4 separate regions of the Homo sapiens genome follow, and regions 1, 3 and 4 are each linked to region 2. Evidence: promoter capture Hi-C in human tissues and cell types (Jung and others, 2019). All regions are on one chromosome and are shown on one strand. The core of a region is centred on a gene start or on the middle of the fragment in contact, and the rest is flanking DNA. Distances in the headings are between cores, read along the strand shown.

Region 1 (3,295 bases), core at 1-2,500, 300 kb after region 2:
ATGGTGAAACCCCATCTCTACTAAAAATACAAAAATTAGCCGGGCATGGTGACGGTGCCTGTAGTCCCAAGCTACTCGGGAGGCTGAGGCATGAGAATTGCTTAAACCCGGGAGGCGGAGGGTGCAGTGAGCCAACATTGCACTGCACTCCAGCCAGGGCGACAGAGGGAGACTCAAAAAAAAAAAAACAAAAACTTTTGTACTTGGTTAACGTGAACGCTGCCTCCTTAAAAAAAAACAAACAAAAAAAAACCCAGGAACATTTAACGTGAATGTCAGGGACTTTGGGATGAGTCCAGGGACCTAGAAGTGCGGAATGCACAAAGGAGCTGGGAAAGTGTGTGAGCCTGAGCCCAGGGCTGCAAGTTGGGAGTGCCTGAGTGCACAGGGAGGCCACTCCAACCCTCCAGCTGCCTCTAGGGGTATCAGAGAGGGAGCCCGTCCCCACTGGCCACCAATACCTCTTAGGCCAGGGCGAACACGTCCACGGGGGTATATTCAACTTGTGACCCCAGTCTCTGCGAGAGCCTGCAGTAGCATGGGGGGGAGAGACCTCGCGTTCTCTAAGGATGGAGGACAAAGGAGGAGAGACTGGGAGGGCAGGGACGGTTGCGGAACGGTCACAAGGCCTGGGCGCGAGGGTTTGGAAGGCAAAGGTGCGAGAGGCACCAGGTGACCCGTCCTGCGTGATTAGCGGTCGGACAATCTGAGCCTGCTAAGAGCTTTCCTGACCACGCTGGTATGAAGGGCGGCTTGGAGGTGACAATGGGGGACGACAGGGCACAGCAGGTGTGGAGACGGTGTGCAGGGCCGGAGCAAAACCGTTAAAGGCAGGTGGAGACACCCTCCTCCCCTCCCCCAGCATGGGGTCTTCCTAGCACCAGTGCGCGCCTTCCCACAAGCGATGAAGTCCAAGTCCACGTGCTGGGGGAGTGTCATGAACTGACGTGCGGTGCAGCCAGTGACTAGGCGTTGTCGGTGCGCGGCGGCGGGGCGAAGCCTCGCGAGGGGTGGGAGCCCGCGCTGCGGGGCGTCACTCACCTGCGGCCTGGGCAGAGGTCGGGGTGGAAAGCGGGCTCGCGGCGGCCTCCAGGCCTAGTCCGAGGCCGAGCAGCAGCAGCAGCGCCAGGCCCAGAGCCCCTGTTCGCCACGCTCCAACCTGCGCCATCCAACCGCCGCTCATGCTGTCCCCACAGCGGCGCCGGCCACGCGCTGTCCAGACCGCTCTCTTATCCCTGCGCACGCGCACGCGCGGGGTTGGGGCGGGGCCCAAGCCCCTGAGTTCTGCGGCGCCCGCGGCTACGCGTACCGTAAATGTCAGAATAGCAGGGAAAAGAGAATTAGAGGCCCGTCCCCACTTTCCCCAGTGACCAGATCAGTTGAAAGGTATGGAGCCCGCTTGAAGTTAGAAACTTCTGGGGATGGGAAGGAATTTGTTGGTGTTCATTTGCATTATTTCCCGTTCCAAATGAGGACTGCTGCAAATGTTACTGCCTCGTGATCTTCTTTAATATGGCAGCCACGCCCCTCAGGCACTCCGCATTTCCTCCCTCATCCCACTGCTTTTGTGGCGCCGACAGGTAATTTATTTTATTTACTTATTCTGGTTTGTTGTCCGAGTCCCCATAGAATGCTAGCTACTGGAGGGCAGGGATCTTCTGTTGCTCACTGCTTTATTCTCAGGATCTGACACATAGTGCTTGACTCATAGTAGGCTCTTAGTAAACATTTGGTGAGTAAATGAATAAATGAAACGTCCATTCTCGGAGTCGGGTTGCTTGGGGGGGAAAAAGGAAAGGAAATCAATTAATTAATTAAATTTAATAATAAAGGCCGGGCGCGGTGGGTCACGTGTGTGATCCCAGCATTTTGGGAAGCAGAGGCGGGCAGATCGCTTGAGCCCAGGAGTTCGAGATCAGCCTGGGCAACACAGCAAGTCCCCGCCCGCCTCAAGAAAAAAGAAAATTAGCTGGGCATGGTGGCTCTAATTTGTAGTCCCAGCTACTCAGGAGGCTGAGGTGGGAGAATCACTTGGGGCTGCACTCCAGCGTGGGTGACAGTGAGACCCCATTTGTTAGAAAAGTTGGCCGGCGCGCTGGCTCACGCCTGTTAACCCCAGCACTTTGGGAGGCCGAGGCAGGCGGATCACGAGGTCAGGAGTTCTAAACCAGCCTGGCCAACATAGTAAAACTCCCGTCTCTACCAAAAATACAAAAATTAGCCGGGTGTGGTAACATGCTCCTGTAGTCCCAGCTACTAGGGAGGCTGAGATGGGAGAATCGCTTGAACCCGGGAGGCGGAGGTTGCAGTGCGCCGAGACCACATCATTGAACTCCAGCCTGGGTGACAGAGTGAGACTCTGTCTCAAAAAAAAAAAAAAGTTGTGGTCATAAAACTTGGTTCAGATGCCGTCAGCGGCATGCCTTGCCTAGGGTCTTGCCCTCCTTGTGGCCTCTGCACACCCTGCCTAGTCTTTCCTTCCCTCCTGACCTTTCTGAATCTGATTCATCCTTTTGCCCCAAGCAGAATCCCACCTTCTCCAGGAAGGTGTTAGCCTTTGTAGGACCCACTCTGGGACACTGGTACCTGCTGCCTGTAGCCGTGGCCTTTCCCCTTCCAGAGGGCAGGGCGGTCTCAGCACCCTCTTGGTCCACAGCTGATCTTTTTTAGCTGCTGAAGGGTCTGGGGCTGTGCCCTGGGGAAGCCATGACACTCCCCTGCGTAGGGTCACTGGGTGGCTCCTGCAGCCAGACTTGGACACCCTCCCTTTGCAGATTTCTGTCTCCTCCCCAGGAACCAGCTGCCTTCCTTCTGGGGCGAATTCATTCTTATCCCACAGCCCCAGCATAATGGGATCTGGCTCAGGGAGGCCTTTCCTGATCTGCCCTAGGTTTGCCTTCCCTGTGAGCAGCCCTTACTGTCCTCTGCCTTCCCCGTTGAGCTGCAGGGTGACCATGGTCAAGCAGGAGCCTCAGTGGGAAGGTGCTGAGGAAGGTTCATGTGAGAAGTGGCTGTGGGAGCCCTCAAGAGATGGAAGTTAGGCCAGGCGCGGTGGCTCACGCCTGTAATCCCAACACTTCGGGAGGCAGAGGTGGGCGGATCACTTGAGGTCAGGAGTTTGAGACCAGCCTGGCCAACATGGCGAAACCCCGTCTCTACTAAAAATACAAAAATTAGCTGGGCTTGTGGCAGGCGCCTGTAATCCCAGCTACTCGGGAGGCTGAGGCAAGAGAATCACTTGAACCCAGGAGGCAGAGGTTATAGTGAGCCGTGATCGCGCCATTGTACTCTAGCC
Region 2 (3,338 bases), core at 220-2,719:
ACTGGTGGCTATGTACAACATCATTTATTCAGTGCCTACCAGGCACAGACCACGCACAACGCAACGGGATTTCCACCCTCTTCAATTTGCACCACACTTTTGTCCTTCCCATTTTATAGATAAGAAAACTAAGGCTCAACAGAGTCAAGCTTGTTCGAGGTCTTGGGAGCATCTCCCAGGGCATTAGAACTTTTGGAGGAAGAGCATTTAGTTCAGTAATGGTTCTCACCTGTGCGTGTGAGAGTGGAAGAGACCCCTCCCCCGCAACCCGAGCCATCTGGCAATGTTTGGAGATACTTTTGATCCTCACGACTTGGAGCATGGGGATACTGCTGGCATCTAGTGGGTAGAGGCCAGGAATACGGCTCAACTTCCTACATTGCACAGGGAAGCCCCCACTACCACCACAACCAAAAACTATCTGACCCCAAACATCAGTAGGGCCAACGTCGAGAAACCCTGCTCTAGACAGATCATTCTCCTCATCTTCCCATTTCTGGCCATCCGGATCTTAGATGAACACTTTCTAGCAAGGGGGCTCAGTCCCACCACGGGAAGCCCATGCAGAAGTTGTGCAGAAGTTCTTCTCCACCTGCCCTGCACACAGTAGGGACCAAAACCCATTTTAACAAGCCCCGCAGCCCAGAGCACCGGAAAAGGAAGGAAGGGCATCCATCCCCCATTGTTCAACTGTGTGCAGCTTGTGTTTCCAACAGGCACACACACATATTTTACAAATCCTAACGTCCCACGCCCCACAAACAGCTTTGTTAGAGATGGCGCTCAAAAAAAGATGCAGTTTAGATTTTTTTTTTCCCCCAGGACTCCCGTGTATCTACTGAAGGGTTTGCACACTTCTCAAAGGACCTCGCACCGGCCGCGGTGCTCTGACAACGACCACAAAAGAATCTGTGGGATTTCCCGGGGGAGCAAGCCCGTGGGCCGTGACCTCTGCGCGCTCAAAGCGTTCCCGGCGCTCCCCCGTAGCTGGCCCCACTCTCCCGCCCCCGGAGCCCGGGCTTCCAAGGCGACCGGGGCCCCCGGCCGTGCAGCCCGGCCCCCCGGCGCATGCCCACGCCGTATCCCCCTCGCCCGTCCCTCGAGGCGCCAGAGGAATCCGGCCCCGGGGCCTGTAGCCGGCGCCCACACCGGCCCGCCCCGACCCGCCCGCCGCGGCCCCAGCGCGCGTCCCCTCCCCCGGTCCGGCGCGGCCTGGGCCTCGGCCGGTGCAGGCCCGCGGGCGCCCCGCGGCCAGGCCAGGCGAGCTCAGGCCTGCCGCGGCCTACCCCGTCGGGCGCCGCCGAAGGCCCCCCACCGCCTCACCTGGATGCGGGCGGGCGGGCCCGGGGCTGCTCCGGGGCGGGCGGGAGGCGGCGGCGGCGCGGCGCTAACGGCTCCGCTCGGCCTCGGTAGCGGTGGCGGCGGTGGCGGCGACGGCGACGGCGGCAGCGGCTCCTCCTCAGCGCGCACGACCCGCTCCGGCCCGCGGCCCGGACACGCCCCCCCCGCGCGCGAGCCCATTGGCCGACGTCCGCCACGGCGCGCTGCTCATTGGCCGGCGTAGCTGTCGCGGCGCTCCGGGGCGCGCGGGAGAGGCGGGACTTCCGGTCGGCGCCGCCTGCGAAGTGCTCCGCGGCCGGCGGAGACGCGGGCAGCCAGCGATGGCCGCGGAGGGGGCGAACTGGGTTCCGGCCCTCGGAGGCTGACGGAAGGCGGTGGCTGAGGAGCGGCGCCTCTGGTTGAGCGCTCGCCGTGTGTCCCGCACCTGTCTGTCCTGCCGCCGCCCGGTAAGGTAGGAAAGGTCAGCGCGCCGGGGTTACGGGTACAGAACCTGGGTTCGAATCCCGGCCCCGACGTTTCCGCACTACGTGCCGTTGGGCAGGAGCTGACGTCACCTTGCCGGGCCTCAGTTTCCTTCTCTGGTGCGCTGAGGAGGCGGGGCATGGAACGTGGTCAGCGCTTCATCGGTGCTGGCTCTTTGAGCAAGCCAGTTCCCGAAGGCTCAGCATCTCATTCATTCATTAAAATGTCATTGAGCGCCTACTGTGTGTCAATCACTGTATGGGCAGTGAGCAGAAAAAAAATACCTGGTCTTATTGGGCTAACATTCTAAACCAGCGCTGGCCTAGAATGCCCTAGTAGAAATACATGCAAGCTACATGTTTAATTTTTTTTTATGTAAAGATGGGCTCTGGTTCTGTTGCCCAGGCTGGTCTCGAACTCCTGGACTCAAGCGATTCTCCTGCCTCCGCCTCCCAAAGAGCTGGGATTACAGGCATGCCTGCACTCTGCCTAATTTTTTCTTTTTTTTTTTTATGATCTGAAAATAATAGTCTTTTTATTTTTATTTATTTATTTATTTATTTGAGACGGAGACTCGCTCTGTCGCCAGGCTGGAGTGCAGTGGCGTGATCTCCGCTCACTGCAACCTCCGCTTCCCAGGTTCAAGCGATTCTCCTGCCTCAGCCTCCTAAGTAGTTGGGCCTACAGGCGCTGCGCCACCACAACCAGCTAATTTTTGTATTTTTAGTAGAGACGGGGTTTCACCGTGTTGGCCATGATGATCTGTATCTCTTGACCTCGTGATCTGCCCGCCTCAGCCTCCCAAAGTGCTGGGATTACAGGCTTGAGCCACTGCGCCTGGCCTACAATTTTGTTTTTCTTTTTTTTTTTTTTTTTTTGAGACAGGATCTCACTCTGTCACCCAATTTGGAGTGCGGTGGTATGATCACAGCTAACTGCAGCCTCAACTTCCCCAGCTCAGGCAATCAATCCTCCGGCTTCAGATTCCTGAGTAGCTTAGACTACAGGATGTGCCACTATGCCTGGCTAATGTTTTATTTTTTTGTAGCGATGAGGTCTTGCTGTATTGCCTAGGCTGGTCTCAAACTTCTAGACTTAAGTGATCCTCCTGCTTTGGCCTCCCAAAGTGTTGGGATTACAGGCGGGAGCCACGGTGCCCAGCCTGTTTCTTTTTTTAATCATATTTTCTTAGAAGTTTTTTTTTTTTTTTTTTTTTTTTTTGGAGACAGGGTCTCACTCTGCTGTGCAGGCTGGAATGCAGTGGTGTGATCTCAGCTCACTGCAACCTCTGCCTCCCTATTCAAGTGATTCTCGTGCCTCAGCCTCCCAAGTAGCTGGGATCACAGGCGTGCAACATCACACCCAGCTAATTCTTGTGGTTTTAGTAGAGATGGGGTTTTGCCATGTTGGCCAGGCTGGTCTCAAACTCCTGGCCTCAAGTGATCCACCCACCTCGGCCTCCCAAAGTGCTGGGATTACAGGCATGAGCCACCACCCGGCCTAGGAAAGCTTTTTAGAGATTGGGTCTCACTGTG
Region 3 (2,984 bases), core at 119-2,618, 470 kb after region 2:
GAGCACACTGCTCCAGGGAGCCTGTTATCCATGGCTCTTGGTCTCCCGGCCATTTCGGAGGCTTGACTTCAAAGCCTTCAGTGCTTTGGGAGAGTAAGTCACCGTGGCGATCTCTTGCTGCTGTTGCTATGCAATTAAAGATGGAATGTTCATCAGATGAAACGCCTGGGAAGTGGTGGCAGGTTTTATTTACTTTTTAAATGAACTTTGTTTGCTTTCTTTCCTTCCTTTCTTCCTTTTTCTTTCTTTTTGATGGAGTCTCGCTCTGTCGCCCAGGCTGGAGTGCAGTGGTGCGGTCTTGGCTTGCTGCAACCTCCATTTCCTGGGTTCTAGTGATTCTCCTGTCAGCCTTCCAAGTAGCAGCGATTACAGGCATGTGCCACCATGCCAGGCTAATTTTTTTTTTTTTTTAGTAGAGATGGGGTTTTGCCATGTTGGCCAGGATGGTCTCGAACTCCTGACCTCACGTGATCCACCCGCCTTGGCCTCCCAAAGTGCTGGGATTTCAGGCGTGAGCCACTGCGCCTGCCCTTGTTACGATTTTTAAAAGCTTACCTGGTTGTAGTTTAAGCCTCAGATGGTGGTTACCCCAGATATTGCAAGTGTCAGCTCTTTTGGCTGTTTCCAGAGACCAGCCTGTATTTCTGTGTCCCTGTCTGTGTTGGTAGGGCATGGAGTTGAGTGTGGGCTGGGTATCCAGTTGTGGGTTGGGAAGCTTTGGGGGAAGGAAGATAGGTTCTTTGAATACATACATTAGCTTCATTGTTACTAAAACCACCCAGATTCAGAGAGTAGTGGACACCCAGGATGTTGATTGGCTGGTTTGTAACGTGTTTTTTCATGAGAAACATCCTTTGGGCTACTAGGGATTGGGCACATTTGTGCTGCTTGCCACCTGATGTCTTGAGTCACCTTTTTTGATCAGACAGTTCTCAGTCCATGGGTTAGTGAAACAAATAGGCTCTCAAGAATCTTAGTGTGGGGGTTGTTAACTTTCCCGTGTTGGTTTTCAGCCGCCTTTGTTGTATACACACATATCCCAAACGCCGGAACAAGGCTCTGTTTCCAAGTGTGCCGATGTTGAATTTTGCATTGGGCCCTGAGGTCACTGGTGGGTGGGGGTGGGTAGGCTGAAGTGGATAGCTGCAACTCACTAAACACTCTTTTCCTTTGAGGGTCAAGGTTTGCTAAATAGGGGAAAACTAAGCTTCTTTCTCTTTTCTTTCCAGATGGCCTTGGTGGTATTGGCATGGGGTTAGGACCAGGAGGGCAACCCATTGATGCCAATCACCTGAATAAAGGCATCGGAATGGGAAACATAGGTCCCGCAGGTGAGAATGACAGTGCACCTTGCTTGGTGGTTTGGGGAAGTGAAAATTATTAATTATTGGGACAACTGGACTTTGAGTAGTTTAAATGGAATAAATATTTAACTGGGACAAAATTCCCTCCTTATTCATCTCTGCCTCATTTTGAATAAAGGCAGTATTTTGTATTTTTATCAAGTTGAGTCATTTTTTAAAAAGTCATTATGCTTTTTCATTGTAACCTGACAACAACCTTCTAAGCTGAAATAGTTGTGCCATTTGATAAGAGGAGGCAAGCCAGAGAGTTGATCTTGCTCAAGGTCACACTGTCAGTTACTGACAGGCTGCAGGTCTCCTGACCACGGGACCATAGCACTGCCGCAGTGCCCTGAAAAGTGTCTTACCAAGACCCCTTTGGGCCCTCCTGGTGTTTGCACAGCTGCTGCTAGAGAGCTAGGGGCATTGATAGATGCAAAAAAGGTGGAGAGGCCAGGCACGGTGGCTCACGCCTGTAATCCCAGCACTTTGGGAGGCCGAGGTGGGCGGATCACAAGGTCAGGAGTTTGAGACCATCCTGGCCAACATGGTGAAACCCCATCTCTACTAAAAATAAAACAATTAGCCGGGCGTGGTGGCGCACGCCTGTAATCCCAGTTACTCAAGAGGCTGAGGCAGGAGAATTGCTTGAACCCGGGAGGCGGAGGTTGCAGTGAGCTGAGATCACATGACTGCACTTCAGCCTGGCAACAGAGCGAGAGTCCGTCTCCAGAAAAAAAAAAAAAAAAAAAACCTGCATGAAAGCTTTGATGTGTAGAATAAACTCAGGCTTTGCTGTTTAGCATTTTCATTGCTGTGTAATGATGTATTTTGATTCTATTAAGGAATATGTCATTTTTATGACCTTAGACTTTGGTCTTTGTTGGAATCCTTTGAAATTGGAATATGGAAGCCCCTCTATCCCACCATTGTCAGTGTTGCATATCCCTAGACTCTCTTCCAGAGTCACCCTGGGGCTGACTTAAATTCTGGGCCACAACTTCAAATGGCTGTTAACGTTTCCCCCGACCCAAAACACACACACCCCATGTCTGACATCTAAACAGAAAGACTGGGGGTTGGGGAGGAAGTCTTGGTGTTTTTAGGAACTGGTTTTTATTTTGAAGATTTTACCTTTAACAGGGATTGATTTATTGAGACGGAATTTTGCTCTTGTTGCCCAGGCTGGAGTGCAGTGGCTCAATCTCAGCTTACCGCACTCAATCTCTGCCTCCTGGGTTCAAGTGATTCTCCTGCCTCAGCCTCCCAAGTAGCTGGGATTACAGGCATGTGCCACCACACCCAGCTAATTTTTTGTATTTAGTAGAGACAGGGTTTCACCATGTTGGTCAGGCCGGGCTGGAACTCCTGACCTCAGGTGATCCACCCGCCTCGGCTTCCTGAAGTGCTGGGATTACAGGCGTGAGTCACCACGCCCACCCTTAACAGGGATTCTTAAAAAAAATCTACTTCTGTTCCCTAAAATTTTCTAAAAAGTTTATGTTCCATAGAATGTGTCTTATAATTCTATTTCATGTTTAATACTGCCTAACTTGAGGCCTGGTGTGGTGGCTTATGCCTGTAATCCCAGCAATTTGGAGGCCGAGGGTTTGAGACTAGTCTAGGCGACATAGACTCCAT
Region 4 (3,149 bases), core at 267-2,766, 380 kb after region 2:
CAAGAAAGTACATTTTAGATACTCTCACTACACACACAGTTAATTATGGAAGGCAATGGATAGGTTAATTGCTTAACTCTCATAATTGGCCATGTGTGGTGAAAATGCCTGTAATCCCAGCACTTTGGGAGGCCAAGGTGGGCGAATCACCTGAGGTCAGGAGTTCGAGATCAGCCTGACCAACATGGAGAAACCCCGTCTCTACTAAAAATACAAAAAAATTAGCCAAGCATGGTGGTGCATGCCTGTAATCCCAGCTATTCGGGAGGCTGAGGCATGAGAATCGCTTGAACCCGGGAGGCAGAGGCTGCAGTGAGCCGAGAGCACACCATTGCACTTCAGCCTGGGCAACGACAGCAAAACTCCGTCTCAAAAAAAAAAAAAAAAACTGTCATAATTATTATTTCACTGGGTACATGTGTATCAAAACACACGCTGTACACCCTAAATATATAAAACAAACACATACTGTATTGTCAGGTAGTGATAAATCCTATCACTACCTGACAATACAGCAGTATGTGTTTTATTTTCTATATTACCTATTTTTATATTTTACCTATGTGGCAAAATATAGGACAAAAGAGGGGTAGTGGTAGGAGGTCCTGTTGGAGAGCATTGGTATCCAGTAAGGATTTAAAAGTATTTATTTAACAAAGAATAGCAGAAAGTGGACGGTTGATTCACACTTGGTGCAATCTCGGCTCACTGCAACCTCCACCTCCCAGGTTCAAGCGATTCTCCTGCCTCAACCTCCTGAGTAGCTGGGTTTACAGGCACCAGCGACCACGCCCGACTAATTTTTGTATTTTTAGTAGAAACGGGGTTTCACCATGTTGGTCAGGCTGGTCTCGAACTCCTGACCTCGTGATCCGCCAGCCTCGGCCTCCCAAAGTCCTGGAATTACAGGCGTGAGCCACCGCGCCTGGCTGATCTGGTTATTTTCAAAAGATTCCATGAGACGGGTTTCTTCAGTTTACAGAGGAGGAAACTGAGGCACAGAAGGATAACCCAGTGAGTCCCAATATAGAGATGGAGACTGCAACCGAGAAAGGGGACCCAGCGCTGAGGTCCCCGGAAATGGTCATTTATGGGCTTGGGGGGCGACCAGGGCAGCGCGCGCTGACCTATGACGTCATCGGGACGTTAAGCATCGTAGCATTACCTGGACGTAGCCCCATTTCTCTTCCCGGACAGGTCCTCTGATAGTCGGGTAGGTTCTCAATCAAGCCTCTCATTAGTTATTTGGTCTGTCAATCCATTTCATTCCTGCAGTCTTCCGCCCCGCCCTCTTGAGCTCGCCCCTGATAGGCTGGCGCGTCCGTCACTTCAAAAAGGTCCGCATTCCTTCCGCCTTTCTCCAGGACACCGAGGGCGAGGAGGGTGGTACCAAGCGGCGCCCACCCTCAGAGCACTACTTCCATCTCTGATTGGCTTCGCTGGGTGCCCGTCGCTACTCCACTCGCCGCTGATAGGCCATTCAACCGCCGCTCTGCGCGGCGCCGGCTCCGCCCCCGTCGGGTGTTTGTGGTGGGGCTGCGGAGTCGCCGATCCCGCCGGAAGCGCCAGGACAATGGGGACCCGGGACGACGAGTACGACTACCTATTCAAAGGTGCGGCCGGTGGGGCACAGACGGGCGAAGTCGTGGCGGCGAGGCGGCGGGCAGACGGGCCAAGGCCGCGCTCCAGGCCGCTGGGCCCAGGCCGGAGCCCGGGGCTTGGGGCCCGGCGGGTCAGGCAGCCGGGAAGGCCGGAGCCGACCGGGCAGCATCAGCTTCGGGCTAGGATGCGCGGCTATACGGAGCCGGAGGCCCGGAGAGACCTGGGGGACCTAGGACGCGCCGGGGCGGGGCCAGAGCCTAGAGGGGGTGGGGCCCGGAGCGGTGGGAGAGGCTGTTAGGGCGGGGCCTCCGCAGGGGGTGGAGCTTTCCCAAGATTTGGCGGGCCGGGCTGGGCTGAAAGCGTGATTCGGGATGGGGGCGGGGTTTTTAGGGGCGGGGCTAAGGCGTGATGGGCGTGACCAATAGGTGGGTTGGGCCTGGGCAAACGGAGGCGGGGCTCTCACGAGGCTTGTCCTGATTGGGGCAGCGTGTTTGGGGGTGGGGCCCGGGAGAGGCGGGGCAGGCAATGGGGGCTGGGCCGAGATGAGGGCCTGGGGGTGAGGTGTGTGGTGGTGGGAGCCTTGGATTGGGGTGCAAAGCTGGGATTGAGTGGAAAGGCACCCGTGTGTGCAGCAAGAATTCCATCTCTTCACTCAGAACTCTCAACAGTGCTAAGCCAGTACTTGCACTTTTCTGAGCACTTTACCCGAATTAACTAAAATCCTCACTGCAGCCCTTTGAGGTTGATACTAACCAGCCTCTCTTTTTACACGTTGGGAAACTGAGGCCCAGAGTGACAAAGACACAGTTTATAAGTGTTGGAACCCGATTGAGCCCAGGCCACCTGTAGGCCTTACCACTTAGGAAGCGTGTCTTAGGGGGCTTGTGGCCAGCATCTGGGACTTTGGGTTGTTGGACCAACTTCTTCCAACACGTGCGCACTGATGGCCGGGGCCCCAGCCAGCCTGCTGGAGGGTCTTCCCCGCCCGAGGGACTGAGGGGGCTCTAGGAGCATCACATAAGGCCTAGGTAGATCAGGCAGCCATTGCCCATTTAGGGACAGCTGGAGGAAGCCGGAGTCCCTTGTTTCTCAGCTGAGCCTTCTGTGCCCAGCTACACTTTGGCCTAGTGGTCTGCCCTGGTTGCTGGGCTCCCTGGCTGACAATGGCAGCCCTTGAGGGCTAACCCCTGGATCCAAGGTGCCTTCACCCTGCGGCCTGCTCTATGAGGGCCTGCGTCGCACATCAGCTGTTGGTATCCTCACCTCGCTGAGCCGTTCCTCCGAGTGTGCTCTGTGGCTTGCACCAGGCCTAGCTGGGCCTTGTGTCTGGTCTCATCCAGCGTCTTCTGATTGTGGGGAATGAGGCAGAGGTCTCCCCACCTGGGCTGTCCGTGTGGCGAAAGCCTTCCGGGGGGAGGGAGAGGAAGTGCCTCTACAAGGGCCTAGAGTCGTCCTGTGGCACTGAGGGCTCTGGCAGCTGCACACAGGTTGATAATGTCACTGGTGGGTGAGGCTCTGTGGTCAGCAGGTGCCCGGCCCAAGGTCTC

Evidence for each region. Contacts are between HindIII fragments. The study calls those that stand out against the background at their distance.
Region 1: a contact is called between the fragment with the promoter of CD320 here and the fragment with the promoter of ELAVL1 in region 2, in 1 of the 25 tissues and cell types used here (dorsolateral prefrontal cortex).
Region 3: a contact is called between a fragment that was not itself captured here and the fragment with the promoter of ELAVL1 in region 2, in 4 of the 25 tissues and cell types used here (IMR-90 fibroblasts, adrenal gland, liver and 1 more).
Region 4: the fragment with the promoter of RAB11B here is called in contact with the fragment with the promoter of ELAVL1 in region 2 in 1 of the 25 tissues and cell types used here (spleen).

What each region holds. Positions count from the first base shown.
Region 1 is chr19:8,307,108-8,310,402 of GRCh38, forward strand. It overlaps CD320 (CD320 molecule), which reads right to left and starts at 1,251. Exons shown (of 5, transcript NM_016579.4): 1 at 1,042-1,251. The coding sequence starts at 1,183. It also overlaps a transcript of NDUFA7 not described here. RefSeq lists enhancers at 14-754, 741-870, 755-1,494, 1,550-2,079 and silencers at 951-1,040, 1,015-1,353. The HindIII fragment of the contact is 38,311 bases long and covers 1-3,295 here.
Region 2 is chr19:8,004,172-8,007,509 of GRCh38, forward strand. ELAVL1 (ELAV like RNA binding protein 1) reads right to left here and starts at 1,470. Exons shown (of 6, transcript NM_001419.3): 1 at 1,324-1,470. LOC105372266 (a long non-coding RNA gene) reads left to right here and starts at 1,642. Exons shown (of 4, transcript XR_936302.2): 1 at 1,642-1,787. RefSeq lists silencers at 846-895, 926-1,125, 1,356-1,845. The HindIII fragment of the contact is 8,326 bases long and covers 1-3,338 here.
Region 3 is chr19:8,470,097-8,473,080 of GRCh38, forward strand. It overlaps HNRNPM (heterogeneous nuclear ribonucleoprotein M), which reads left to right. Exons shown (of 16, transcript NM_005968.5): 10 at 1,230-1,331. Among named protein-coding and RNA genes, the nearest start is that of HNRNPM, 27 kb to the left of the region's middle. The HindIII fragment of the contact is 4,970 bases long and covers 1-2,984 here.
Region 4 is chr19:8,388,844-8,391,992 of GRCh38, forward strand. RAB11B (RAB11B, member RAS oncogene family) reads left to right here and starts at 1,517. Exons shown (of 5, transcript NM_004218.4): 1 at 1,517-1,613. The coding sequence starts at 1,574. It overlaps RAB11B-AS1 (RAB11B antisense RNA 1), which reads right to left and starts at 1,848. Exons shown (of 3, transcript NR_038237.1): 1 at 1,166-1,848. It overlaps MIR4999 (microRNA 4999), which reads right to left and starts at 537; the gene lies at 447-537. RefSeq lists silencers at 1,149-1,430, 1,650-1,909 and an enhancer at 1,180-1,379. The HindIII fragment of the contact is 12,481 bases long and covers 1-3,149 here.